2 separate regions of the Homo sapiens genome follow, and region 2 is linked to region 1. Evidence: promoter capture Hi-C in 16 types of primary human blood cells and fetal thymus (Javierre and others, 2016). All regions are on one chromosome and are shown on one strand. The core of a region is centred on a gene start or on the middle of the fragment in contact, and the rest is flanking DNA. Distances in the headings are between cores, read along the strand shown. Region 1 holds the start of ACOXL (acyl-CoA oxidase like). Region 2 overlaps BUB1 (BUB1 mitotic checkpoint serine/threonine kinase).

Evidence for each region. The method cuts DNA at HindIII sites, captures the fragments that hold promoters and counts their contacts. A CHiCAGO score of 5 or more calls a contact.
Region 2: a fragment that was not itself captured here is called in contact with the fragment with the promoter of ACOXL in region 1 in 1 of 17 cell types (megakaryocytes); the score reaches 7.5 in megakaryocytes.

What each region holds. Positions count from the first base shown.
Region 1 is chr2:110,731,273-110,733,874 of GRCh38, reverse strand. ACOXL (acyl-CoA oxidase like) reads right to left here and starts at 1,302. Exons shown (of 18, transcript NM_001142807.4): 1 at 1,101-1,302. LOC124906064 (a long non-coding RNA gene) reads left to right here and starts at 1,450. Exons shown (of 3, transcript XR_007087181.1): 1 at 1,450-1,521; 2 at 1,971-2,039; 3 at 2,240-2,514. The HindIII fragment of the contact is 3,688 bases long and covers 1-2,602 here.
Region 2 is chr2:110,647,802-110,650,403 of GRCh38, reverse strand. It overlaps BUB1 (BUB1 mitotic checkpoint serine/threonine kinase), which reads left to right. Exons shown (of 25, transcript NM_004336.5): 19 at 1,027-1,170. Among named protein-coding and RNA genes, the nearest start is that of SNORD132, 9.1 kb to the left of the region's middle. The HindIII fragment of the contact is 795 bases long and covers 923-1,717 here.

The DNA.
Region 1 (2,602 bases), core at 53-2,552:
TGCTCTTGGGTCCCCCCAGGGCTCCCTGTACCACACTTTGAGAACCATAACTTAAAGAACTATGTATGAGAGAGAGGGAAAGAGAAGTCGGCGAGACACTGATGGATATACCCACCATCCCACACTTCTCACTTTTCAACTTTCAAACGCCCCCAACTCCCCACTAGGTAACCTCAGTGCAGGAACCCCAGATTCTCCAAGGACAGCCTGACGTTCACTCAAGCCATCTCCTTCCCTCTCATTTCCGCAAAATAAATTAAACGAGGGCTAAGTGGGCATGGCTAACCAATTAATCCTCCACGGGCACATACTGACATTTTTAATAGGGCCTTTCTTAAGCTAGAACTCCAAAGCATGCCTCCAACTGGGCTTTTCAGACTGCTTGAAATGGGTATGAGAAAGAGAGCCCACAGGAGACACGAATGCCGAGTTCTGGTCCTGACTGTCCGGTGACTGAACCATCTCTCTATCTCCAGTGCAGCTCAAGCACTCAACCCTCTGCCTGCTTCTCAGGGCTGTCCTGGCATCGGATGACATCGAGGACCTGAGTTCTTCTTATAACCAAACCGCCCCGCTGAAGCTGCCCATTCCGCACACCTGCACTCCGAGGGGGTCCTGTAAGCCTGTCCCACCCCGACGCCCAGACACGCCCTGGACAGGGCCACTCCATCCCTGTGCGCCCATCCCATCGCGGTTTTCTGTCCCCTTCTCCCCACCAAGGGTGGGACATCGCGGGGCGGGGACTCAAGAAACAGGTTCAACAAACCAGCAAGGCCGATCTTCCAGCCACACGGTCTTCGTAGACACCGCGCCTGTCACCGCGGGGCCCAGCCCTGCACCCGACTCTTCGTGGGGGAGGGAGCTCGGGAGGAGAGGGCACCTCTCAGGGGGCCGAAGAGGTCGGCGGCGGCCGGCTGCGCCCACACACCTGGGGAGGGGAGCCCGTCACCTGCGGCGAGGCAGGGACCCGCCTCTCAGGCGCGGCGCACACCCCACCTCGCCCTCGCCAGGGCGTTGTCCGCAGCGACGCTCCGGGGACCGAGGGGACACGCTCGGCGGCTTCGGGGGCGCGGGCAGGGGCGACGGCCGCAGCGCGGTACCTTTGCCGGAAGAGCGGGCGCCGCCGAGGAGTCCGCGCAGCTCGTTCTTGAGGCTCCAGAAGTCGCCGTCCAGGTAGCGGTGCAGGGAGGAGTCCCCGAGCCCCAGACCCGGCGCCGGCTGCATCGCGCTCACCTGCCTCTGCTTCTCCGCGTGGCTGGCAGGGCCGGCTTCGCTCCGCGCCTCCTCCAGCTCCCAGCAGGTGAGGCCCCAGGCGCACGCCCTCTCCCTCTCCACCCCTCCCGGCCCGTCTCCTCCCTCCTCACCTTCCTCTCCCCTCCCTCCCCGGCCCCGCCCTGCCCTGGCTTCCCGGGCGGGAGGTCCGGCGCGAGCGGGCGCTTCTACGGTGGCCTCCCCTTGCCCTTCCGAGGAAGCGAAAACTCTACCCTCCAGTTATCAACTGTCCCTCAAGATTTGTGAGCCGTAAGAAACAAGTACTAGACCCCTAGAAAGGGTGCCAGTCACGTGGACCTGGGCACCAGAGGCCCGGCTGCTCAGGACTGACCGGCTGACCCACTCAGCAGATCTCCCGGCCAGCCACTTTGCCTGACCCCCACGACCCAAGATAGCCTGGCTCCAGCTCTGGCCCCTCCTCAGCTGTATCTCACCTCTTCCCCGCACTGGGCATTACTGTGAACTCTAATATCACGGTAATCTAAAGGCGTCCCAGGTCTACAGCACTGCAGTCCAGGGTAGCTGGAAGCTGCATTCATGACGAGGTGATCGACCGGAACACGATACTCATTTCCCAGGACACTCCTTTTTTTGTTGTGGCTGGAGGAAAATGAGTTATAACCTAAGTGGAAAATGTTCCTTCCTTTCTGCTCCCTAATTCTCATATACCTTGTTGATTCTCCTTTTAAATACTCAAGGAAATGTTAGCCGTTCCCTTCCAGAGGCTACTTTGCTGGGGAGATGATGGTGTGGTCTGCTGTCGTGAGGTTAGTGGATGCCATCTGTATTCGTTTCCAGTAACAAATTCCCACAAAGTGAGTGGCTTAAGATAGCACCAATTTATTCTCTTACATTTCTGGAAGTCAGAAGTCCAAAATAGGACTTACAGGGTTAAAATCAAGGTGTTGGCAGAGCTGGGTTCCTTCTCACAGCTCCAGGGAAAAATGCATTTCCTTGTCTTTACTAGCTCCTAGAGGCTGCCTGCATTTCTTAGCTCCTGGCCCCTTCGTCTGTCTTCAAAATGCATCACTTCAAGCTCTGCTTTCATCGTTCCATCTTCTACTGACTTTGACCTTCTTGCCTCCCTTGGACTTGTTTACATGGGACCCATGGGAATAATCCATGGTCAATGGGAATAATCTTCCCACCACAAGATCCATACTTTAATCACACCAGCAATGTCCATTTTGCCATATCAGAAACACACTCTCCGGTACTAGGGATTAAAACATGAGCACCTTTGGCGAGTCATTCCTCTGTCTACCACACCTGTGCAGCTGCGAGTAATAATACCCAGTCATCCATGATAAAAGGGGCTTTGTTTTCTCAC
Region 2 (2,602 bases), core at 71-2,570, 83 kb after region 1:
CATCACAATGGAGTAACAGTAGCATACTTGAAGGGCAAATCAATTTTAATTTTAGAAGGTATCAAAATAACTACTGTTGGAAGAGGGAATTAGAATTTGACAGCCTACTACGTGCCAGGCTTTTAATCTAATACTATTATATTTTACATTTTACAGAAGTAAACTGAGGCTGAAGGTTAAAGAGACACCCCCCCCCGCCCACCCCCTTGTTACACATAAACAGTCTGGCATAGTGGTTAAGAGCACAGAGTCTGGAGATGGACTGACTATGTTCTAATCCTAGCTCCCTCACCTAAGTAGTCACGTGATCTTGACCAAGATCATTTCAATTTTCCATATCCCTCTTTTCTGTAGAGTTGAGCTGATGCTAGTACCTACCTTAGAGGCTTATTGTAAGAACCAAGTAAATTAATAAAGCACTGAGAACAGTGTTCTGCATGTGCTTAGCGCTGAGTGAGTGTTAACCATGTTGGATTAGTATTTGATAACTGCCACTAATATAATTTTTTGTAACATTCCAGGTTGGAGAGAAAGCTTTTTCTTACTTTTAGAAATTATTTCTCTTTTGTGGACCCAAAGTATATCTCATATATGCAAATTGCACATAGGTAGTATAAGTTTTGTGGATATAAGTGGAAAAGAAATTAAATAATATGTGTCTATCTGCGCACATTAGAAGTAACTAATGTCCACATCTGCCCTTAAGACATGTATCCCTAATTGTGTTAAAGATAGAATCTAGCCGTTCCAGTTGAGTGGAGCAAATGCACCTAGAGTTGATTCCCTTTGTCACAACTAAATATTGATCCAAATTTGTAGATCTAAAATGGCAAATAATAAACTGTGCAGAGCTACCAATTTTGACTTTTAAAAATAGTTCTTTTTTATTTTGAATTAATACTCTTATAAGGCTTTGAAAGCTTACTTAGTAAATATCTCTACTCACTTTGTCTATAATTTATTTGGTAAAGTTCTTGAGTACTCAATTCATGTTCCCTTTTTTTTTTTTTTTCTCATTCCTTTAAGACTTCATTGTTGGGAACCCATGGGATGATAAGCTGATTTTCAAACTTTTATCTGGGCTTTCTAAACCAGTGAGTTCCTATCCAAATACTTTTGAATGGCAATGTAAACTTCCAGCCATCAAGCCCAAGACTGAATTTCAATTGGGTAAGAATTATTTGGATAATATAACTTTAAATTCTTGTTTCTCTATGAGAAGTTGATGGTAACGTGTGTGTGTGTGTGTGTGTGTGATTCTCCTATTTGCCCCCCAACCTCCAATAGGGAGTTGTATCTGTAATACTAAACTGATCATTTTGTTAAGCCATGATTGTAGGATTGTGCTTGCTGTTGGGACTATAACTCCTATAACTCATAGAGGGCAATTTGCCAATATCTATTAAAATTAAAAATGCATTTACTTTTAAAGCCAGCTATCCACTTTTAAGGATTTCCTATAGATATTATTATATACTTCTATAGTAAAATACTATAGTAACATTGGCAACAGAACAAGAAAGCTCACTCTGTACTGATAGGGAATGAGCTCCAAAACATACCATACTGTTAAAAGGGCAGAGCCGTATGTATTATATGCCACAATTAAAACAGTTAGCTGTAGGTGGGAGTGGGAAACAATGGTAGCAAGACTTCACAATATTCCCTTTTAAGTTTTTTAATGAATAGACTTTATTTTTAAGAGAAGTTTTAAGCTTACAGAAAAATTCAGCATAAAGTACATATTCCTACCTCCCCATATATACACACACAGATTTTCGTGTTACTAACATCTTGCATGAGTGTGGTACATTTGTTAAAATTAAGCCAATGTTGATGCATTATTAATTGAAGTGCTAGTTTACATTAGGGTTCACTCTTTGGGTTGTATATCCTGTGGGGTTTTTTACGAATGTAGTACAGTGACATGTATCCATCATTACAGTATCATACAGAATCATTTCCTCACCCTAAAAATCCCCTGTGCCTCACCTATTCATCCCTTCCTCCTTGTCCCCCAACGCCTGGCAACCACTGATTGTTTTGCTGTCTGTGTAGTTTTGCCTTTTCCATAATGTCATATAGTTGGAATCATATAGTATATAGCCTTTTCAACTGGCATCTTTTACTTAGCAATATGCATTTAAGGTTCCCTTGTGTCATTTCATGATTTGATAGCTTTTTTTTTTTTATCACTGAATAATGTTTAGTGCATGAATGTACCACACCGTTAAACCTTTCCACTCATCTAATGAAAGAGATCTTGGTTACTTCCAAGTTTTGGCAATTATGAATAAAGTTGCTGTAAACATCTGTGTGCAAGTTTTTGTGTGGACATAAGTTTTCAACTCATAATTTGGGTAAATACCAAGGAGTGTAATTGCAGGGTTATATGATGAGAGTATGTTTACTTTTGTAAGAAACTTCCAAAGTGACTGTACCATTTAGCATTCCCACCAACAGTGAATAAGAATTCCTGTTCCCCAGTCTTGCCCTCATTAGGTGGTTGTCAGCGTTTTGGGTTTTAGCCATTCTGATACGTGAACAGTGATATCTCAATCTTGTTTGAAGTTTCAATTACCTGAAGACATACTGTGTTGAA